2 separate regions of the Homo sapiens genome follow, and region 2 is linked to region 1. The links are contacts of gene promoters, found by promoter capture Hi-C in human tissues and cell types (Jung and others, 2019). All regions are on one chromosome and are shown on one strand. Each heading gives the region's core, a stretch centred on a gene start or on the middle of the fragment in contact. The rest is flanking DNA. Distances are from core to core; before and after follow the strand shown. Region 1 holds the start of CAPN5 (calpain 5). Region 2 overlaps ACER3 (alkaline ceramidase 3).

The links. The method cuts DNA at HindIII sites, captures the fragments that hold promoters and counts their contacts. A contact is called where the count stands out against the background at its distance.
Region 2: a fragment that was not itself captured here is called in contact with the fragment with the promoter of CAPN5 in region 1 in 1 of the 25 tissues and cell types used here (bladder).

The regions. Positions count from the first base shown.
Region 1 is chr11:77,062,188-77,069,841 of GRCh38, forward strand. CAPN5 (calpain 5) reads left to right here and starts at 4,784. Exons shown (of 13, transcript NM_004055.5): 1 at 4,784-4,907. LOC105369400 (a long non-coding RNA gene) reads right to left here and starts at 1,536. Exons shown (of 3, transcript XR_950341.1): 1 at 1,000-1,536. RefSeq lists an enhancer at 3,943-4,443 and a silencer at 4,300-4,989. The HindIII fragment of the contact is 16,009 bases long and covers 1,092-7,654 here.
Region 2 is chr11:76,905,615-76,913,268 of GRCh38, forward strand. All of the region lies in intron 1 of ACER3 (alkaline ceramidase 3), which reads left to right. Among named protein-coding and RNA genes, the nearest start is that of ACER3, 49 kb to the left of the region's middle. RefSeq lists an enhancer at 5,531-5,825. The HindIII fragment of the contact is 4,759 bases long and covers 464-5,222 here.

The DNA.
Region 1 (7,654 bases), core at 3,534-6,033:
TTTTTTTTTTTTTTTTTTGTATTTTGTTTTGTAGAGATGGGGTCTCGTTTTGTCACCTAGGCTGGCCTCAAACTCCTGGCCTCATGCAATCCTCTCATAGCAGTCTCCCAAAGTGTTGGGATTGCAGGCATGAACCACTGTGCCTGGCCCTTGTGATGTTCTTGATCTTAGTGGAAATGCTTCCAGTGTCTCTTGATTAAATAAGATGCTGGTTTATAGGACTATATCTTATCATATTGAGAAAGTATCCCTCAATTCCTATTTCACTGAGTGTTCTGATCATGAATGGGTATTGATCAAATACCCATTTCTTAGCATTTATAGGGAAATAAATGAGCATATTATTCTATCCTTAGGTTCATTCATATGGTACATGCTTGTTGTACATTGAATTGGATCCCATAGAAGGAATTGACCCTGATGATACCTTTATCAGAATTAGGGATACCTTTATCTTGAACTTCTAGCCTCCAGGACTGAGACAATACATTTCTGTGGTTTAAGCCGCCCAGCTTGTCATTATGGCAGCCCTAGGAAACTAAAGCAATGTTATTAATGGATGGATTTTTCTAATATTAAAGCTACTCTGGAGGTTGAGGCAGGAGAATCGCTTGAACCCGGGAGGTGAAGGTTGCATGCAGTGAGCTGAGATCACGCCACTGCACTCCAGCCTTGGTGACAAGAGCAAAACTCTGTCTCAAAAAAAAAAATCAACCTTGCATTCTTGGAATAAATCCCCTTGGTCTGACTGGTTTTTAATAATATCCAGGATAGTAACAAAATATAAGCAGTGTTTCAGAGAAGGATGCACTTGAAAACAACTCAGAGGTCATCTTGTCTCAATATCCCAATTTCCATCATACCTGTTCTGCCCTGGAGTCCCTTGTGAGCTCCCATTTTTGACCACACAGGGGAGCACCATTAGCAACTATTCCCCATTGAAAGTTCTGTGTCTGATGGGCCTTCTCACCCTGCAATCTTGACCTGCCCCCCACTCACCTGAGCTGGCCAGATGAGAATGGAATGAACTGGTTAACAGGGTGATTTTTAATATTCCTCCTAGAGACACCAAGCCTTAGGAGCCTCCACTTTGAGCCACTCCCCATGCCATGGCTTCCTTTAGGGTTCCCACACAATAGCTAGACAATTAGGTCTGTTGGGGTTAAAAAAAACATGATTATCATAAGTTTCACCTGGGAAATCCTATTACACACAGGAGCAGTGAAGATAGGGGTTTTCTAACCTGGGCAGAGAAGATTCTGTCTCTAGGCTCTGGTAAGATAGAGGGTATAGAGTCTGGCAGAACCAGGAAGAGAGGGGTGGATCAGCTCTGGGTGACAAAAGCTCTCCCAGGTAGAGGAGAAAGGGTTGTGCTATGAGGAAATGAGTTCCCAGTTACAGTGGCATGCAAGCAGAGGTGGGACAGCCAGTCAAGGAGCCTGCAGAGGTGACCTTTTCCTGGAGGAGATAGGAAGAGGGGAGGGAAAGGCCACAAGAGTGGAGTCAGACAGGGTAGGTTTGGATTCCAGTTACTAATTGTGTGACCTGGGGCATCTCCCTGAGGCTTGGTTCTGTCATCTGGAAAATGGACTAATCAGAGCTGCTGCAGAGGGCGGTTGTGAGAAATGGGAAGTGCACCTCCACATCAGGCCCTGCGATGGTACCATTAGATGACTCAGTTTACAAAAACTGACCAGCAGGATCCCGGGCCAGAGCATCATCAAAGTCCCACCTTTTCCCCAACCTTGTTGGGCAGATCTGGCTCTTCCTGGCCTATCTTGGGGACCTCTCTCTCCCCCAAGAGCAGGGCCAATGCTCTCTCCACCCGGCCACCAGGGTGGGTGTCCTGGGCAGGTCACTCTCGCTAGGCCTCTTTCCTCACCTGTCGGAGAAGGTGGAGCTGCTGGAGATGATTAAAGGACTGGGCCCTTCCAGTGCTAACCTGCTAGGGTGGCTGGGCTTCTCACTGGCCATGAGTGCATGTCTCTGCTTCTGGGACTCAATGTCTTCACAAAATGAGGGGCTGGGCCAGATGACAATAACACCAGCTAGCACATGCTGAGCTCTTACTCCAAGCAAAGGGCAACCATGAGGGCTCCGTATGTCCCGGCCCATTTAATCCCACAACAACTCCATGGTGCGACTGTTGCTATGCTGGCTTTATAGGAGAGGATACTGGCACAGTGAGGTTGGGTCACTTGTCTGAGGTCACTCAGCTAATATGAGCCCAGGCAGAGCCCATGCTTGCAACTACTGCACAATACCCTCTTGTGGCTCCAATGCTTTGAGATACAGAAGGGGGTCTGAGCATCCTCTGAACCCCACTGTTTTGTGGGCTGAGGCAAACATGCCTTCTCAGACACAACCCCAGCCCCACCTTGGAACACATGGGAGTTGCCCAGCCCAGAGACAATGCTGCCCAGTATCCTACACAACCGGGCCTTTATCGATCCCCGTGACTTGCCTGTACCTGGTCATCACACACTCCAGCTAGAAGCCCATTTTACAGACAGGGAAAAGGATAGAGGACCTGCCCAGATCACACAGCCAGTAACTGGCAGAGTGAGGACTGGAGCCCAGATCTACTTGGCTCTACCAAGTGCTGCTGTCTTCCTGACAATGACCCTTGGCCTCTGCCCTCCAGGAACTTTGGCCTTGCAGGGGAAACCTTGGCCCCACCAGCAACTCTGAGAGACGCAGCCTGAGAAGGGCCATAGGTGAGGGGTGGATGCTGAGCAAGGGAGCTTTGGGATGCTGCAGCACAGGGAGGAAGGAAGAGTCCTTCAGACGGCCACAGATCAGCACGGGCATGGTTTCAGGTGGGGAGAGTAGAGCCCCTGAAGTGACTTTTGAAGGGCTGGTGAAGCTGCTGCTCCCAGTACAGGGCATGGAATAAGGTTAGGGGAGATGGGGGAGTCAGATGGGGTGCAGTCTTAGAACACTCTTCTATGGGTGGCGGGTCTCAGCTGCATATGTGAAAGTCTTCTTTGGTTGGATAGGAGGCTCCTGAGGGGGCTGGGGCTACTCTTAAGGGAGAAGCATCTGGGTGGCCTGGGACAGAGGCAGGGAGGTTGGGGAGAAGCTAGAGAAGTCCAGGTGACTGAGAGTGAGGTGAGGCAGAGACTCCTCTTAGTGGAAATAAAGGAAAATCATGAGTCTTTTCAGGGGGAATTTCAGGCAGCTAGCTAGCTTTGAGAAGTAAATGAGCACCTTGACAAGCAAGAAGGTAATTGAAGCTTCAAACAAGGGCCACCCAAATAAGTTAGAGCCACAAGATGTCTGGTTCCCTATAGAAACTAAAGATAACATCTTGACCTATGTCCCTGAATTGTTTTTCACAGCTGTCACTTAGGCCTCAGATAAGGGGAAACTGAGGGCTGTTCTTTAAATTTCTTCCCAAGGGTTCTGTAAAGAGTCACACCCATAAGCCAATGCTTAACTCTCCTATCTGTGGACCCCAGGTTTTTAGACAGTCTTGCTTCCTAAGCCAATTGCAAATCACAGAATCTCTGAATCCACCTATGACCCTGCCTCAAAATGTCTCACCTTTTTGGGCCAAGCCAATGTATAGCTCCAGAGTATTTATTTATGACTTTGCCTATAACCTCTGTCTCCCCACCTTTAAAAAGCCTTACATGTAAACCATTGGGGAGTACGGGTCTTAAGCATTAGCCGACCTATTCTCCTTGCTTGGCACCCTGCAATAAATGCCTCCCTTTCTGCCGCTGCAAATCCTGGTGTCAGTGTTTGGCTTTGCTGCACTGGGTGGGCGGACCCAAGTTTGTTTCGGTAACACAAGAGGTTGACGAAATCATTAACTGAGACTTCGAAACAAATTGGAGGCGGAGAATGAACGGGCCTGAGACGCTCCACCAGCGAGTGGGCCGATGGGCTCATCAGATCAGATGGGCGTCTGTCCTGCTGCCTCAGGGCGGGGGGTGGTGGCACCCCTGAGCTCCTACTGTAGGCAAGAACTAGTCACTCCTAAACCTTCTCTATCGGATTCCCCAAGCGGCCTGGGGTGGGTAGAGATTATAGTCCCCGTTTTACAGATCAGGAAATGCAGGCTCCGTGCCATCCCAGGGCATTCCGGTAGCCAGTCACGGACAGAGAGTCAAACATGAGCCCGAGCCCGGGAGCCCATGGCAGCACGGGATTAAGTCCTCAACACGGGCCGGGGTCAGTTTTCCCATCTGACAGAGGCCCTCTGCTGCTCACAGGGGCCTGGGCTCCCACTTCTCCATCCGAACACTTGGGATGGATGTGAAGGTGGAGCCCGGAAAGGGAGGGGCGCCGCCCACCAAGTCCTGGTTCTGGCAGGCACCCTGGCCCTTGCGGGTCCTCGGTACTACACGCCGGCCCCAAGTCAGCCGCGGCCCCGGCCCGCCCTGTGGGGGCTGAACCCCAGCCCCGGCCCGATCCCTCACGGTGCAGCCAGCCCTTGGGAGGCTGCCCATGGGGATGCGCACCAACCGCAGACAGATAGGCTGGGAAGGAGAGAGAACGAGGGCCCGACCGAGCCGGTAGAGGCGGTGGGTGCCGCTAGGGGCCCCAAGTCCGCGTTCAACACAGGGGCTGGAATGAGACCGCTCCTCTGAGCGGCCGCCCACCGCACCAGTGCGCATGGGCGCACCCGGCCACCGGGCCGCCCACCCCGCCCCACGGGAGACCACGCCTCCGGCTCGCAACGGGCAAATGGGCGGAGGCCGCGGGCGGGGCGGGGCGGAGCCGGGCCCAGCTGGCCGAACCCGGGGAATGCGAGCGCCAGCCCCCGCCGCAGGCCAGTCCCAGCTGGATCTCCGGCCAGAGCCCGAGGCTGCTGCGCCGGGCGGCTGCAGCCTCCGCTCCAGCGCCCGCGCCGTGCCCTGCATCCCGGGAGCCCGGCTGGACCCGCGGCGGCTCGGCCGGTAGGAGGCGGGCGGAGGGAGGCGTGTGCTTCTGTGTGTGTGTGTGTGTGTGTTTCGGGGGGGTGTGTGCGGGTGCAGCGCGGGCCAGTGATTGCTCCGGGACCACGAATCAGTGGAGGGGGCTGCACCTCCCGCGGGCCCGGGGGGAAAGGAAGTGAGCGCTGGCTGGGGGGCGGGGTCCTGGAGCATCCGCCTGGGCCCCCTCGGCTCGTCCCCACCCCCACCCCCGGCGAGGAGTCTTTTTTTCACCTCCCTCTGGGTGTCTCCGAGTCGTTTTCCTAGTGCGGACGCGCTGGAAGCGCCTAACACCCGGGGCTAGACTGTCACTTCCTCTCATCTTCCTTACAGTTCCCCCCTTCTCTTCCCTGCTTAACCCCCCTTTCATCCCTGCAATCCACCAACCCCTTCTGGGTGCTCCACCACCCAGGCCTGGGGAAGGGGCAGGGCCGAGGCTCCTACTGCCCCAGCCTATCCGCTTCTTGGCACTACTCCCCAGGTTGAAAGGGGGCTTTTCTCCTTGACTGCAGGGCGGGCGCACGTGTGTGTGTGTGTGTGTGTGTGTGTGTGTGTGTGTGTTGCGGGAGTGTGGGGGAGTGGTCTGGGAGGGAATGGATCTTTGTTTCTCAGACCTCAGAGTTCCCACCTCTGTTCCTTTGCGTTGGGGGTCTCGGAAGACTGGCCTAGGGGACCAGAGGCGAAATAGGACAAAAGATCATTAACAGGTGCGACGTTCTCTCTCCCAGTCATTTCATGTGGTGGGATTCACCCCCAAGTTCCATACAGATCAGAAGAGTGGGGCACAGAGAAGCGAAGTCAGCTGCCCTCTCAGGATTGCTGAGCCAGAATTTGAACCCGGGTCCGCCTGGCTCTCATCCCAGAATCTTCTCCCTACACCTGTGGTTTAGAGAGAAAAGTACTGAGGGCGACTATCCCAGGACTCAGGGGAAAGAGAGATCTGGGCAGACTTCTTGGAAGAGAGGGGCTTACGGGTGAGGCTCAGCCAACTCAATGAGTCTGAGGCCTGCTGGGGGAACCACTGTGTTTTGCAAGGATTGACACCTCCCAGGGTCCTCGGGCTGGTCCTTGCTCCTGTCCCCAGGGTCTGGGGGTGGGGTGGTGTGGCTGCCTTTGCCTCCTGGGCAGGGTATGGTGGGCCCAGCTGCTGCTGCAGGCCAGGTCAGGCTAGTTGCCAGCACACAGAGGTGCTCAGGCGGGGTCTTTGCCCTGAGGAGCCTCTCTTCTGACAAGACAGGCAGTGGGTCCACAGATAAGGCCCTGTCCAGAGTTGTACCCAGTGCTGGGAGCACAAGACAGGGACTGATGGGTGCCCGGGAGCTGGGGATGAGTTCACTTGCAGATTCGTTGGGGCTGGGTCTTGAAATCCACCAAGCAGAAAAGAAAAGGCAGGTCATTGCAGCCCCAAGGAACAGCATGAGTAAAGGCCTGGCAGTGTGAAAATGAATGCTGGTGGGGTGGATTGCGGATTAGATAGGTCAGATGTGTGTCCAAGAAGGGCCACCTTTGGCTGCAGTAGTGGGTGGGCTTCCACTGAGGGCTATAAGGAGGAGGCCAAAGCAGGGAGAGGGCCCTCCCTTCTGCTCTCCTCTGCTCCCCACCCAGGGCTAGGCTTGGCAGGGGAGGAGGGACCCTGATAAAGTTTCCCAGAGCAGGGGTGCTGGGGGCAGGAGGTGCCCAGGGGCTAAGGGGCTACACAGGGTCCCAGTGCTGGGGGAAGGTAGGTGGGGCTGCCTCTGTGAGATGGGGACCACCATTGGGGGTGGAGCAGGTTGGGAGTAAGTTGACTGTTGGACAGGGTGGTTGTGAGATGCCTGTGGGTTTTTGTGGGTGACATCTGGGACACTGCTCCCAGGCCAGCACTGTCTCTGTCTGCTTCTGCGCCTGCTTTCCTGGCAGGCTGTCAGATCAGCCCTGGAGTCCTGGTCCCCAAACAGGAGGCCTCCTGCGCCCTCAGTGGGCACCCTCTCCTACCTGCAGGGCCTAAATCATGTGTCTGTTCTTTCTCTTGGCTGAGACCATCTCTGTACCTTCCTACTTGCCTATGACCTTGAGGCGGAGAACTTCCCTTTTCTGTCTCAGTTTTCTCATGTGCGGAATGGGGATAAATGCTGCCTATTCACAGGGACTCGGGGGATGATGAAGATGAACTTAGATCATGTCACTGAACGCATCTTTCTAAGTACATGGTGTCTGGTAGCCATTGTTACTAATAGCAGCTGGCAATCAGCATCACTTAGTTCCCTCCCTGGGGATGAGGGGCTGACTTTGGGAGAAGAAGGGTGGAAGGAAACAGTCCTCTCCTATTGAAACGGAAGCCTCTCTTGGCTTTAGTGGGTGAAGGGGACTTACGGGAGTGATCTGTATCTGCCTGACCAAGTCCCCTGGCTTCCCCCAAAAGCTTCTAGCCCTTGAGGAGAGGCAAGGGCTGAGCAGCCGGGAGCACCCTAGAGTACAGCATGTAAAGGTTGAACAGAAAGCCCAGCAGTGGGCCCTGGGCTCCCCCAGCTGCAAAGAGCAGGGTCTGCAACACCCCCCACCCCTCCCCAGCAGCCTCCTGGGCAGCTGGCAGCAGTCTCTCTGCAGCTGGGCTTTTCACCCGTTCTGTCTCTGTCCCCATCTATTCAAGTGTTTTGAGTGCCTTCAGAGCCCCTCCCAGGCACCTCTCAAGTGCCCTCAGAGAACTCTTCTGCCTCTCCATCCCTGGTCCCCGCTCAAAACTTTCCTGGGCT
Region 2 (7,654 bases), core at 1,593-4,092, 160 kb before region 1:
AAGTATAAACAAGGTTGCTCACTGCAGTATTGTTTAACAAAAACATAGGAAACAATCTAGAATGTTCATTAATATGGGAATGGATAAACAAAATGTGGTTTATATTTCTATGATAGCATACTATACAGAAATTAAAAGGAATGAAATATAGTATCTAATAGATCTCTCAAGAATAATTTTTATTGATAAAAGCTATTTGCAAAATGATATTTACACTTATTTTGATAAAACAAGAAAACAAAGCAAAACTATGTGGATATACATTTATGTAAAATCATTTAAAAATGAATTATAGTGATACACACCAAATTAACCATTACATCTGGAAATGCATGAAGGGGAATTGGCCAGACAGATGGTTGACTTTTGAAACTGCCTTTGCAAAGATTATGACATTGAGAGAAAGCTAACATGGCTGACTCCATCTTGCTTCTAGCCTCACAGGCTGGCTGCCTTCGCTCATTACTGTGTGTAGGTAAAGCTAACCATGGGAGGAATTTCGTTTATAGTTTTTAACTTTGAAGCAAGGATAATATTCCCTCCCTATAACTGATCCCCTGCTTGTTCAGGGGCTGAAACTGCCTTTGTAAGACTAATGAAAGGCCACAAGATTAGGATTATGGGAGGGGCCTGAATTCTGCTCAAGTATAGATGTAATTTCTGTAATCCCTTACTGCTCAGGAGTCACAGGCCAGAGGACACACATTTGTGACTTCTCTGATTACTCCTAGTATTGGTACTTGAAATTCAGATTTTTGCATTCTGGCATTGAGATTCATAACTCAACTGGTCCTGTCACCCCCTAACCAGAGACAGACTCAGCACAAGAGGATTGTTTTCCACACCCCTATGATTGTATCTCCAACCAATCAGCAGCACCCATTCCCTAGTTCCCTGCCCACCAAATTATCCTTGAAAATCCCTAACCTCCAAGCCTTCAGAGAGGCTAATTTGAGTAATAACTCTGTCTTCCGTGTGGCCAGCCTCACATCAGTTAAAATCTTTCTTTACTGCAGTACCATGGTGTCAGTGAGCTGGTTTTGTCTGTGCAGTGGGCAAGAAGAACCCCTCAGGCAATTACACTTTGACTTTTTTTTGTATTATTTTATTTTATTTTTATTTTAAATATTGAGATGGGATCTCACTATGTTGCTCAGGCTCATCTTGAACTCCTGAGCTCAAGCAGTCCCCCCACCTTGGCCTCCCAAAGTGTTGAGATTATAGGCATGAGCCGCCATGCCTGGACATGACTTTATCTACAATAGATTTTTGTATTCATTCAAATAAAAGCTTGATAGAGACATAACAAAATATAAACAATGATAAATTCTTAGGCATGAGCCTATTTGTTACATTATTCTTTATTCTGAATTTTACAGTTTCTTCAATTGAAAAAAAAGCGTCACGTTGTATAGCATCTGGTGCAAAATAGATACTTAATTCACTTCTCTCACTGTTTTTTTTCACCCTTTTTTACAGGATTGGATCATCAACTTACATTAGACAGCCAGTTTAATACCCCAATTATTTAAAGCTTCTCCTATCACTTTAAAGTGAATCCCTCCAATGAGGTACAAATTCAGGAAACAAGCATTCTTTATGATAGGCCCAGGAACTAGTTCTTATGAGTGTGATCAGTGGCCCCATCACAGCACCTTTTGTGTTATCTGGTTATAGCTTCTGCACTTGAAAGTCTTCTGTAGATCACAGCTCACTAGACACTATTTCAAGCAAATTTATTGTGAAACTAGTGTTATTTAGCTGATTTGTTCTTAGTGGACATGCTGTGTTTATATCTCTATTTTTGTGGTTCTCTTTCATATTGTTTCCAATAAGGATGACTGTTAAACTCATGGGCACATTAAGTAATATGTATGTATGTGATTTTCTTGAGTGCTTTTATTGTTTTCACCTTGATTTCTGACTGTTCAGATTTACAAGATTATTTTTGAATTGGATAAAATAAGCCAATAAAGCCGGGCACAGTGGCTCACACCTGTAATCCCAGTGCTTTGGGAGGCCAATGTAGGTGGATCACTTGAGGCAGGAGTTCAAGACTAGCCTGGCCAACACAGTGAAAGCCAGTCTCCACCAAAAAATACAAAAATTAGCCGGGCATGGTGATGCATGCCTATAGTCCCAGCTTCTTGGTAGGCTGAGGCAGGAGAGTCACTTGAACCCAGGAGGGAGAGCTTGCAGTGAGCTGAGATCATACCACTGCACTCCAGCCTGGGCGACACAGTGAGATCCTGTCTCAAAAAATAAAAATAAAAATAAGCCAATAAGTTCTAGTTTTATAAAGCTATTGTTGCTTGTCATTATATACAAATTATAATTTTTGCCGGGCACAGTGGCTGACGCCTGTAATCCCAGCACCCTGGGAGGCCAAGGCAAGTGGATCACCTGAAGTCAGGGGTTCGAGACCAGCCTGGCCAACATGGTGAAACCCTGTCTCTACTAAAAATAAAAAAATTAACTGGGCATGGTGGCACATGCCTGTAATCCCAGCTACTTGGGAGGCTGAGGTAGGAGAATCACTTGAACCTGGGAGGTGGAGGTTGCAGTGAGCTGAGATCGTGCCACTGCACTCTAGCCTGGGCGACAGAGCAAGACTCCATCTTGATTGTATGATTGTATATTTAGAAAATATGATTGTATATTTAGAAATAGTATGATTTTATATTTAGAAAACATATGATTGTATTATAATAATAATATGATTGTATATTAGAAAACCCCATCGTCTCAGCCCAAAAACTCCTTAAGCTGATAAGCAACTTCAGCAAAGTCTCAGGATACAAAATGTGCAGAAATCACAAGCATCCCTATACACCAATAGTAGACAAACAGAGAGCCAAATCATGAGGGAACTCCCATTCACAATTTCTACAAAGAGAATGAAATACCTAGGAATATAACTTACAAGGGATGTGAAGTACCTCTTCAAGGAGAACTACAAACCACTGCTCAAGGAAATAAGAGAGGACACAAACAAATGGAAAAACATTCCATGCTCACAGATAGAAAGAATCAATATTGTGAAAATGGCCATACTGCCCAAAGTAGTTTATAGATTCAATGCTATTCCCATCAAGCTTTTATTTGAATAAATATAAAAAACTATTGACTTTCTTCACAGAATTAGAAAAAAACAACTTTAAATTTCATATGGAACCAAAAAAGAGCCCATATAGCCAAGACAATCCTAAGCAAAAAGAACAAAGCTGGAGGCATCATTCTACCTGACTTCAAACTATACTACAAGGCTACAGTAACCAAAACAGCATGGTACTGGTACCAAAACAGATATATAGACCAATGGAACAGAACAGAGGCCTCAGAAATAACACCACACATCTACAACCATCTGATCTTTGACAAACCTGACAAAAACAAGAAATGGGGGAAAGGATTCCCCATTTAATAAATGGTGTTAGGAAAACTGGCTAGCCATATGCAGAAAACTGAAACTGGACCCCTTCCTTACACCTTGTACAAAAATTAACTCAAGCTGGATTAAACAGTTAAATGTAAAACCTAAAACCACAAAAACCCTAGAAGAAAACCTAGGCAATACCATTCAGAACATAGGTATGGGCAAAGACTTCATGACTAAAACACCAAAAGCAATGGCAACAAAAGCCAAAATTGACAAATGGGATCTAATTAAACTAAAGAACTTCTGCACAGCAAAAGAAACTATCATCAGAGTGAACAGGCAATCTTAAAAATGGGAGAAAATTTTTGCAATCTATCCATCTGACAAAGGGCTAATATCCAGAATCTACAAGGAACTTAAACAAATTTACAAGAAAAAAAACAACCCCATCAAAAAGCGGGCAAAGGATGTGAGCAGACACTTTTCAAAAGAAGACATTTATATGGCCAACAAACATATGAAAAAAAGCTAATCATCACCGGTCATTAGAGAAATGCAAATCAAAACCACAATGAGATACCATCTCACGCCAGTTAGAATGGCAATCATTAAAAAGTCAGGAAACAATAGATGCTGGAGAGGATGTGGAAAAATAGGAACGCTTTTACACTGTTGGTGGGAGTGTAAATTAGTTCAACCATTGTGGAAGACAGTGTGGCGATTCCTCAAGGATCTAGAACCAGAAATACCATTTGACCCAGCAATCCCATTACTGGGTATGTACCCAAAGGATTATAAATCATTCTACTATAAAGACACATGCACACGTATGTTTATTGCAGCACTATTCACAATAGCAAAGACTTGGAACCAACCCAGATGCCCATCAATGATAGACTGGATAAAGAAAATGTGACATATATACACCATGGAATACTATGCAGCCATAAAAAAGAATTAGTTCATATCTGTTGCCAGGACATGGATGAAGCTGGAAAGAATCATTCTCAGCAAACTAGCACAGGAACAGAAAATCAAACACCACATGTTCTCACTCATAAGTGAGAGTTGAACAATGAGAACATATGGGCACAGGGAGGGGAACATCACCACACACTGGGGCCTGTTGGGGGGTGGGGGGCAAGGGGAGGGATAGCATTAGGAGAAATACCTAATGTAGATGACCGGTTGATAGGTGCAGCAAACCACCATGGCACATGTATAACTATGTAACAAACCTGCACGTTCTGCACATGTGTCCCAGTACATAAAGTATAATAATAATAATAAAAAATTATGATTTTCACAGATAAGTTACTTAAGAGTAACTATTTCTTACTGCTTTCTGAAAAAAGACTACATATAATTCCATTGAATCTATTATTTTTTCTAACAAATTATTATAGACTGTATGTTTTTCTAAGATATTTCACCCTATCAGAATAAAGGTGTTTTATCTCATTGTAGAATAAACTCTTTAAAAGAGAACTAACATTTATTCCTTGCTTACTCAATTCACTTTTGCAATATTTCATCATCATAATAGGTATTATGCCTAATCTACAGAGGAGAAAATTAAGGCGCAAGGTGGTTAAGTAACTTGGATAAACATTTCGCCAAAGAAAATATACCATTAATAAACAGAAAATAATAAACATATAAATAGTTTAGTAACCCAGAGAAATGTAAATTAAAAAGTAATAATATATAGTTTTCTACCTCTTAAAGTAAGACATTATATTGTTCAATGTTACTGAAGTTAATATGTGAACCAGTCACCGTTATGTACTGCTAATAGGATTATAATTGGTCCAACCATTCTGGAAAGTAGTTTGGTTGTACTGTGTAATGCACCCACAAATATAATGATTAAGTGATTATTATATGATAGAACATTATGCTGCCATCGAAATTGTATTTTCAAAGATTATTAAGTTACATGGATGAATACTTACGTGATTATAGGAAAATCAGAAACAATGACCATTTTTCTGATTAAAATTGTTTATAGTTATTAAGATTACTCTCTACAGTCTCTGCTACTGTTACCCAATCCAGACCCCAAGAGAGGGTTCTTGGATCTTGCGCAAGAAAGAATTCCAGGCAAGTCCATGTAAATCGAAAGCAAGTTTATTAAGAAAGTAAAGGAATAAAAGAATGGCTTCTCCAAGGGCAGAGCAACCCTGAGGGCTGCTGGTTGGCTATTTTTATGGTTATTTATTAATTATATGCTAAACAAGGAGTGAGTTATTTATGAGTTTTCCAGGAAAGGGGCGGGCAATTCCTGGAACTGAGGGTTCCTCCCTCTTCTGGACTATATAAGGTAACTTCCAGACGTTGCCATGACATTTGCAAACTGTCGTGGCACTGGTGGGAGTGTCTTTTCGCATGCTAATGCATTATAATTAGCATATGATTAGCAGTGCCAGGGCCAGAGGTCACTTTTTTTGCCATCTTGGTTTTGATGGATTTTGGCTGGCTTCTTTATCAGCCAAAATCCCATCCTGCTGACCTCCTGTCTTGTTCCGTGATTATGAATGCCTAATCTCCTGAGAATGCAGCTCAGCAGATTTCAGCCTCATTTTATCCAGCCAGTATTCAAGATGGAGTTGCCCTGGTTCAAATGCCTCTGACACTACCATGGTGTTTAATGTCTGCTACTATCTGCCTCATCTGCCTTTTTCTTCTTCCTCTATAGAACAGCTTTCTCTCATTCCTTATATACTTGGCCTAAATATGGAAGCCTCAGCTTTAGCTTTACACTACCTTCACTATAAGTATCCAAAAAAGTATCATTTTTATTTGAGTCCTAATTCTGATTTTCCAGACAAAGAATCTGGGATTAGTGTGAGATTTGGCAAGGGGAATGAGGGAGTGGGGAAGGTCTTATAATTTGCTGCCTACCCCAATAGAGGCTAAAAGGAAAATTCTTAGAGGGAAGCTGGGGAGTTTCTCCAAGAGGAGATTCTACCCTAGGGAATTCATCCTGTGAACTTAACAAAATGTATGAACAAATAAATATTTTTAAGAATGTTCTAGTGGTTGTATAATGTCTCCCCAAAGTTCATGTCTGTCAGGAACCTCAGAATGTGACCTTAATTGAAAATAAGCTCTTTGCAGATACATTAATAATTAAGGATCTTGAGATTAAATCTACTGGAATTAGAGTATTCCTTAAGTTCAGTGATTGGTATCCTTAGAAGAAAACATAGTGACATAGAGAGTAGAAGGCAAAGTGAGGAATGCCAAAGATTGCTAGCAACCACCTGAAGCTGAGAGAGAAGCATGACACAATTTTTCCTTCAGGGGCTCTAGAAGGAACCACCCCTGCTGACACCTTGATTTTGAACTGTGGACATCCTGAATTGTAAGAAATTGAATTGGTTTTTTAAGCTACCCAGTTTGTGGTAATTTGTTACGGCAGCCCTAGGAAATTAATACAGATGTTCATAATATTGCTTTTTTCTGTTGTGAAAACCTGAAAATAACATAACTATCTGCCAATAAGGGATTATACAAATTATAATATATCCATATAATGTAATATTATGTGATAATTTAAAAAAATTGTGATCTCTATAGATTAAAGAAGACAATGACATATTGTTTTTAAAAAGGTTATAGAACCCAGATCACTAATCTTTGGGGAATCCTGAGTCTTGGTCTGAGTAATGTGGAGGCAGCGCAGTCGTCAGAAAAAAAATTTTTTCTCTTGTGTTTATATAATAAATAGCTGTTTGAAAAACTTTTTTTGCATGTATTAAGGCAATTGAGGAAATTTTTATGCTATTTAATGACAATAAATCATAAAACTATTGTATTGTTAGCGGTGGAAGAGATCCAAGTTACTGGCAGTGAATCCATATGGGTCCACAGCAACTTCAGTCCTTGCCTCCTCAGAAGAAAGAATTCGACTGAGGGCCATACAGCAGAAAAAGAGACTGAGGCAATTTTCAGATCAGGAGTGGAAGCTTATTTAAAAGGTTTTAGGATAGGAAAGAAAGGAAAATTTGCTTGAAGGAGACCTGAAGGTCCAAGAGAAGAAAGCAAAAAAACAATGGTTTGTAGTTCTCCTTGAAGAGGTCCTTCACCTCCCTTGTAAGTTGGATTCTTAGGTATTTTATTCTCTTTGAAGCAATTGTGAATGGGAATTCACTCATGATTTGGCTCTCTGTTTGTCTGTTATTGGTGTATAAGAATGCTTGTGATTTTTGCACATTGATTTTGTATCCTGAGACTTTGCTGAAGTTGCTTATCAGCTTAAGGAGATTTTGG